3 separate regions of the Homo sapiens genome follow, and regions 1 and 3 are each linked to region 2. The links are contacts of gene promoters, found by promoter capture Hi-C in human tissues and cell types (Jung and others, 2019). All regions are on one chromosome and are shown on one strand. Each heading gives the region's core, a stretch centred on a gene start or on the middle of the fragment in contact. The rest is flanking DNA. Distances are from core to core; before and after follow the strand shown. Region 1 has its middle 280 kb from the start of MIR588. Region 2 holds the start of RSPO3 (R-spondin 3). Region 3 has its middle 160 kb from the start of MIR588.

Region 1 (2,700 bases), core at 110-2,609, 350 kb before region 2:
AAATAGTTGAATCAAAAATTTGACCTTAATAATTAATTATTAATATAAACCAATCTAACTATGAAGAAGGTAGGTGTTACTGATTTGTAGATACATTTGAAGCTTATTGACCTGATCAAATTAGTTAAATAAAATTATATTTATATTTCCTGTTATCTTCTGATTGGGGGTTAATAACATATATCACCCTTTAGTATAAGAAAATAATAAACTTTTTTGAGGTTTCTAAGCAAATTGATTTTTTAAATGTACCTGGCTTTAAAAATATAAGCTCTCTGTTAAGAGATTCTGTTACATGCTAACATAATATAAGACTACATATTTAATTAGTTTGCATATCCTAAAAGACAGCTGCCCGTTTATGAAATTAGAACATATCTTGAATAATTTAAAAAGAGTTTGACAAATTTGAAAGTGTGCCCCTATTTAAATTGTGAGAGAGAGTTGACCTGTGTGTGTAAGATTCACTTCAGGGATCCTACTGGACTCACAGGAAGGACACATTGCTGACCTCACTAAGTGGTTTAGATAGGGGTTTCCTAATTGATAATGATGGGTTTGAATGAACAAATTAGTCTTGGATTGAAGGGGACTCACTGCTGAACATGTTAGGGGAGGAGGCAAAGTGATGAAATGCTTCGGCTCTGGAATGAGAAGGACTGAACTCCAAATTTGGTCACAAGGCCTTAGGTGAGTTAATTAATTCTCTTTTTCCTGTGAGTCCATGTGGACATTAAAACAGATAATGCATATGAAGCACTTACCATAGTGTCTGGAACAGAGTTAGCACTCAGAGAGAGTAATGGTTTTATTTTTGCCGTACTGTGAGTTTGCTAATATTATAGTTTGGTTCCTAAATACCCCAAAGATATTTCATACTTTTTTTGTTCCTACTCTCTAAAAACTACTTTTGAAGAAAATCTAAGAATTGCCTTTCTTTCTTCTTTCTTTTCTTCACTTCTTCTCTCTCCCTCCCTCCCTTCCCTTCGTCTCGCCTTTCCTTTGCTCCTTCCTTCCTCCCTCCCTCCCTCCCTTCCTTCCTTCCTCCTTCCCTTCCTCCCCTCCTTCCTTCTGCATATCTATATAGTCAACAGATTTTTGAATATTTATTCTATGAAAATCCAAAAACTTCTGCAAGTAGGACATGTAAAAATATAATATTGCAATTTAACTGTCTGTAAACAGAACATTTTATATGGTCTGAATTATAGCATGATGGGAAAAATACTCCACAATGATAGAGATAAATGCCCAATATTAGTATCATTTTTCTTCTGTAAATATAGAGGAGAATTTGAATCCCTAAGGGTATTTTTTTCATTGAGTAAAATTGATCATAGTATAAAAATATATGATAGATTGAAATTACATCTTCTTCCAGGTTTTCTAGTGACCTATAGGACCGTTACTTTCTTGACTATCCTAAAATATATAGCAGCATCTTTCCTGAATGCATTTGCTTCTCCTGATGTATAACATATTCATATGCTGGTATTTATTAAAATAAGCTTGCTGTCATTTATGGAGGGAATGTATGCCAGTTCCCTACCAAGGAGTCCTTCTCCACTCTCCTGATTCAATTTGTACACAATTGTTTTCATTTCCATTGATTCAAAAAGGATGTGGAAGTGAAAATAGTAAAAATAGATGTGTTCAAGTATTTATAACCTATACATTGAATTAGTGACTTGAAACTTCAAATATCAATGTACAGAAATTGAGAATTGACTACGGAGGAGACAGCCCAACCACAATCTGGATTATTTTCCAAATGCTTTAGGTCTGGCAAAAACTAAAGTGTTTATTGCCAAGCCCTTTTCCTCTTAATTTTAAAAAGTCATGTGTGTTTCAAGGGAAATTTAATCCACATGTTTCTGATTCATTTGCACTCAAGTTGTCAAACTGTTTTGTAATCACAAGTCTTTATCTTTTTCTCTCCACAGAAAGTTGAGTTTTCCAAGTGTGCATAAACAATAACCTCTCAGAAGAATAAATTGAATTTCAAATTCAGAAATCAGGGATGGGCAAAAATGTGTATATTTCACCTGTTCTTTGAAAAGAAAAATATTTTGGGGCTTTTGCCCCTGACTTAAACCTTTTGGTGTAGACATCACTTGCCCTTGGCAATATGCAATTCTTCTCTCCAAGGAACAGTATATTTAGAGTTCAAAATATACAGCAGAAGGTGCTAAATGACCCATGAAGCAGGAGGATTCTGTCTTTAAAATTACAAGCAAATATGACCACAGATAATATTAGAGTTTTATAGCAAAAACTTATTTTAAATATTATAATCGTCAAAATTGGGTTTACTTACAACTCCTCATCCCTTAGATATGAGCTTAACAAAGCAAAAGTGCTAGGTTTTTTGGCCCCGAATATTTTATCTAAAATGAGTTTAAATTACAAATAGAAGAATTTACAGGGGGGAAAAACACATTTTTTTAAAGCTTTTGTCATCTCTGAAAATAACTCAGAATTTACCACATTTACATATTTTTCTTATAAAACATTCTGTAGTGAGAGTTCAAATACTAAAGCTTACTATAATAGAATGCCCCATTTGGGAACATTAAGAACTTTTGTTTTATGATAACTCTACAATAGTTACTCCCATTTGGATCTCTTAGAAAGTGCTAATTCCAAACACTTCCTTCTTTATCATGAGATCAAACCATTTGGACCGCTTATTATCATGTA
Region 2 (2,700 bases), core at 15-2,514:
GGCTGGGAAGATAAGAAAGTAGTGGACCTTCCCCTTCCTTCCCCAAGACTGGGAAAATCTTTCCAAATCTTATTCCCAGTCTTCCAGATGCGAGATTAGAATGTACAACAGATCCTCTCAAGAACACTGGGAGACCGAGGGTGGGAGAGAAAACTCCAAGGGGGGCGAGCTGACTATAGAGGGAATTGCCTGAGCGGGAAAGGAATCTTCCAAAGCCACAGAAAAGCCTTGGTTTGGAAGAAAGCCGTAGCACAGCTGCATTTCCAACGGGAAGGTCCTGAGCGCACACACTTCTGGGTCCTCCCCGCTCGGAGCAGGTAAACCTCAGAGTAGCTGACCGGCAGCACCCACAGAGTTTCCTCCCCACCACCCGCCTGGCGACCAACTGCAGCCGAAAAGAAAGAAAGAAAGGAAAGAAAGAAAGAAAGAAGAAGGAAGGAAGGAAGGAAGGAAGGAAGGAAGGAAGGAAGGAAAGAAAGAAAGAAAGACAAAGAAAGAGGAAGGAAGAAAGAAAGAAAAGAAAGAAAGAGAAAGAAAGAAAGAAAGAAAGAAAGAAAGAAAGAAAGAAAGAAAGAAAGAAAGAAAGAAAGAAAGAAAGAAAGAGAGAGAAAAAGAAAAAGGGAGAAAGGCAACAGAGGAGAAGGTCAGGAAAGCCGGGAACAAGTCAGCAGCCAGAAACTCTCCAGCGATCTGCCAAGGGGGAGAGGGTAGTTGCGCGCCGGCGCTGGGGATGGGGTGGGGGCGCTGGGGCACAAGGGCGCAGGGGCGCACGGCCACCGACAGCCGGGTGCGCCTAGCTTGAGGCCGCGGAGAGGAGCCGAACTGGGATGGGTGGGGGGTCTTCGGCCTCAACACTGCCTGCCAGCCCCAGTGCGCCCAAGTCTCCCCGCCAGAGCTGCCCTTCTGGAGGGGCTCTTCGCACGCACTGCTTTCCCCATTCTTCTGGCTGGAATTCTCCGGCCGTCACTGCAGTGTCCAGAGATGCTGCGCTGTAGACCCGGGACCCCTTAGGCGCCTCTTCCCGTCCCTCTGCCAAAGCGCAACGCCTGTACTTTTCCAGCTCCCTCTTTCCCTCTTGAAATTGAAAGTTATTGAGGTCGCTCAGGGTTGTTGCTCCAGCAGTTTCCTTCCCCGCCCCCGAGCTCCCCCCCGCCCCCCACAGCCATCCCCCCTCCTCTCCCCCTCCCTGCCCTCCTCTCCCTCCCCCCTCCCTGCCCTCCTCCTCCTCCTCCCCTATGTGGTGCTCCCGGGAGCCCAGCCCAACACTGGAGCGTCTCCTGCTCGCGCACGCCAGAAGCAGCTCGGGGTCTCTCCGCCGCCCCTTGGCCATGGCCGCTGTGCCGACGGCGCCCGCTCCCCTGCGCTCCAGGGGCCCCCGCCGCTGCAGCCGCAGCCGCCGCAGCTTCTGAGCCCAAGGGGCCGCCGCTGCAGCCGCCGCCGCCGCCGCTCGCCCGCCCGGATCCCGCCTGCGGCAGTTGCCGCACAACATGCTACCTGCGGCCGCCCCGGCGGCTCCTGGAACCCCGGTTCGCGGCGATGCCAGCCACCCCAGCGAAGCCGCCGCAGTTCAGTGCTTGGATAATTTGAAAGTACAATAGTTGGTTTCCCTGTCCACCCGCCCCACTTCGCTTGCCATCACAGCACGCCTATCGGATGTGAGAGGAGAAGTCCCGCTGCTCGGGCACTGTCTATATACGCCTAACACCTACATATATTTTAAAAACATTAAATATAATTAACAATCAAAAGAAAGAGGAGAAAGGAAGGGAAGCATTACTGGGTTACTATGCACTTGCGACTGATTTCTTGGCTTTTTATCATTTTGAACTTTATGGAATACATCGGCAGCCAAAACGCCTCCCGGGGAAGGCGCCAGCGAAGAAGTAAGTGCAGGGTTTTTTACGCGTTTGCTCCCTCCCGCCGCGTTCACCTGTCGGGTCGCTTTGCCTGTCCGGAGCCGGCTCCCAACTGCAGCGGTCCTCCCGCCCTGCGCCTCGCAGAGGAGATGCAGGTTCGGGCTTTGGGGGTATGGACGGCGTCTTTCACCCTTGCCTCTCGGCGCCCCTGCCTTCCGCAGCATCCTAGCCGGTGCGAGGGGCGGGCGGACGCGGCGCTAAGGTGGCTCCCGCCCCATGGTAACTTCAGGTTCGCGGGAAAGTTCGGTCCTGGGTTAGACTCGCACCCGGGATTTGTGCTTTCCTTTTGAGGATCGGACAGGGGCACCCAGCCGAAGGCACTTGGGACTCCCAGACGCAGGATGCCTCTGACCGCTGAGTAAATGACAAGGGAGGCGCGGCCGCGGTACCCGCTCACCTAGCGCAACCGCCTCGCGCGGGGAGACCTCGGCTGGGCCCTTAGGCTGGACTCCGGTAGCCGAACGCCCGCTACCCGGCCAGGAAGCCAGGGAGCGAGCGCCTGCGCGGCCGCATCCCCGACACGCACCAGCGGAGCCAAAGGGCGCGCGAGGCGATGGGGTTCGCGTGTCTGCGCGTTTGCAGAGCTGCCGGACGTCCCCCGCCCGAGGGTTGAAGACAGCAAAACCCCAGCTGTGGGGAGCCGGAGGTGCGGAGTTTCCAGGTTCTCTCTTGTCACATGTGAGCGTCTGTACCATCTCTGGCCCTTTCAAGTGTGTCCCCTGGGACACACACGTACAGAGAGTGGGGTCTCCCTAAAGATTCGCCTCCTCGCTGCCCTTAATGC
Region 3 (2,700 bases), core at 22-2,521, 470 kb before region 2:
CTTCCTAAGAGAAGTGTGTTAAAATTTTCCACTGTCATAGTAAATTTTTGAATTTCTTCTTCTCATGATTTTGGCAAATTAAATTTTATTTTGTGACAATTTTGAAAGTTTATGGGAACTCTATCATTAATTCTATTGTTTGCTTTCGTAAATATGCAAAAATTCTTTTTATCTCATGATTATTTTTACCTTAAAACCTTTTGTATTTGATATTAATGGAGTTATATCAGTTAGCGTTTGCCTTGTTTTGATCATTTTACTTTTAGCCTTTCTTTTACTATGTTAGTTATGTTAAAAGACATTTAGCCGGATAGTTTTAAATTTTTATATTAATCTGAGGATCTCCTTTAATTGCTGACTTTAATCCATTTATATTTATTGTGATTACTGATAAAGTTTGTTTTATTTTTATTGTCATGGTGGTAGTTCTGTTTATTAGTGATATTGCTCTAAATTTTTTTCTTCCAGTTTCTTCCATCATTGAATTTTTAAAAAATCAAACGTAAAACAAGGACAAACACTTAAAATAAGATGACTATTTTCTGGAAATATTTCTAAAGATATTTGGCCAAGAATATATAAAAGGAAGGCTGCTGTGGAAACTTTTTGCTCTTCTGGTACAATGTCATAGCTTTTCCTTTCTCTTTCTTCCTACTGGAATGCAGACGTTCTGGCTATAGCTGTAACAGCTATCTTGTAACCAAAAGAATAGCAGAGACATTGATAGCCATGGGACAGAACTTAACAGCTTTCTCTTGTCTTCCTATTATATGAGGAAAATAATCTATTTTAAGTCACTGTACTTGGGTTATAAATGGAGTCAAATACAAAATATATATATATTTTTCTCTCTTAATTTCTAGTAGATGGTTATCCCACCCACCTTTCTTCTTTTGATTTTGAAATCGTACATTCATTTTTGATCCTTCAGTTGTTATTCTTCAATTTTTAGAAAACAATTGTCTTTACAATGGGCTAAAACTACTTGATATATCTCTACCCTTCTAAATAAATAATATAAAAGAATGCTTTTGTCTCAGTCACCCTCATCATTCTTTCCTATCTCCCAAATATAAAGCCTGATATTTTAGATTCAATTTATTTATACTGTTCAAATTAGTGACTGTTACTGTTATATTTATAATCAAAACATGTTTAGATTTCCCAATATTTTTACAAGTTTATTTTTGTAATCTTCTTTCTTATTTTACTGTCTTCTTACTGAAATTTAATAAATGTTCCTTCAGTTAGGTCTGCAAAACTTGATCTATTTTGATCTTTGCTTGTTAATATATTTATTTAAGCTTCACATTTGAATAAGATTATGTAGAATTCTAACTTAAGATATATATTCCCTCAGCTCTTTGAAGATGTTACTGCATCGTCTTCTGACTTCTGTTGTAGTTCTAAGAAATCTGCTCTCATCTAATTGTTCTTTTGTGTGTCTTTTTTCTGATTGCTTTTATTATATCTTCCTTGTCTTTGATTTTCTTTCTTCTGTTTCTTATCCTGACAGTGGCAGCAGCAGCACTCCACCCACCTCAGCAGCTCAGGTTTTTTGGTTTCAATAATGGAAACTGCTGCTGCCCAGCAACCTCAGCAGTCAGTCTCTAGCAGTACCAGTAGCAGGCAACACTTGTAGCGTGGATGTGGCGGCAACAACAATGGGAATGTGGGCTCCCAGATTTTTTAGTGTCCTCAGGAGTAGGAGCTGTTGGCTTCTTACAATATGGTTGTACTAATGGTTCCAACAGCACAACAACAACAGCAACACTTAGGTAAGACCTAAGTGTTATCTTTTGCTCCTTTAGCTCTTCTAACACATTGTAAATAATTCTCTATATTATACTCTTCTAATTGAAACACCTAGGGTATTTCTGTTTCCCACCTGGATGTTGATTAATACAATATAAGTGAGAATATGGCAGATTATATTAATGTTAAATATTATACAACCTTATCCCAATGATATTAATATTGGCCATCCAATTTGTTTTAACTAGTGAAATGGGAGCAGAAGTAACATGTGTCATGTTCAAGCACAAGCTTTAAGAGATATTACATGGTTTTCACTCTATTCTCATTTACCTCTGCGACAAGACCAGCAATGTCCCAGAGAAGAGCTGCCCAATAGTTTGGATTCTGGAGTGCAGACATGAGCCTGAGGCACAGCCGAAATATAATGGGCATGTAACATGAACAAGAAATATACCTTCGTTGTTGTAAACTACTAATATTTTTGAATAATTTGCTATTGCTGTATAATTTAGGATGACATATAATTTGGGTTTACTTTTACTTATTATGTTTGAGAATAATTGGACTCAATCTGAGAAATTATTTTTCGATTCTGAAAATTCTGCCATTAGCTTTGTGAATATTGCCTCCTGCAACTCACAAGCCTCATTTTCTTGTTCTCAAATTAGAAATATATTGACTTTCTTATTATATTCTTTTTAAATTGTAACTTCTCATATTTTCACATGGATAACTCTTTGTGTTACATTCTAAATAATTTTCTCCATCTGTCTTCCAGTTTATCTGTGTCTAATATCCTAATAGACTGTCCATTATTTAATGACTATATTTTTATGCCTGAAAATTTGATTGCATTTTATAAGTGTTTTTCCCTCTTTATAACATTAATTTTTCCTTTTGATTTATATTTGTTCTTTTGTCTTTTTTCATTTAAAATGTACT

The links. The method cuts DNA at HindIII sites, captures the fragments that hold promoters and counts their contacts. A contact is called where the count stands out against the background at its distance.
Region 1: a fragment that was not itself captured here is called in contact with the fragment with the promoter of RSPO3 in region 2 in 3 of the 25 tissues and cell types used here (H1 embryonic stem cells, heart left ventricle and mesendoderm cells).
Region 3: a contact is called between a fragment that was not itself captured here and the fragment with the promoter of RSPO3 in region 2, in 1 of the 25 tissues and cell types used here (H1 embryonic stem cells).

What each region holds. Positions count from the first base shown.
Region 1 is chr6:126,766,077-126,768,776 of GRCh38, forward strand. No RefSeq gene overlaps it. Among named protein-coding and RNA genes, the nearest start is that of MIR588, 280 kb to the left of the region's middle. The HindIII fragment of the contact is 3,072 bases long and covers 1-2,700 here.
Region 2 is chr6:127,117,407-127,120,106 of GRCh38, forward strand. It overlaps RSPO3 (R-spondin 3), which reads left to right and starts at 1,265. Exons shown (of 5, transcript NM_032784.5): 1 at 1,265-1,883. The coding sequence starts at 1,787. It overlaps LOC105377989 (a long non-coding RNA gene), which reads right to left. Exons shown (of 14, transcript XR_002956387.2): 4 at 1,495-2,700. The HindIII fragment of the contact is 6,946 bases long and covers 1-2,700 here.
Region 3 is chr6:126,644,549-126,647,248 of GRCh38, forward strand. No RefSeq gene overlaps it. Among named protein-coding and RNA genes, the nearest start is that of MIR588, 160 kb to the left of the region's middle. The HindIII fragment of the contact is 4,575 bases long and covers 1-2,700 here.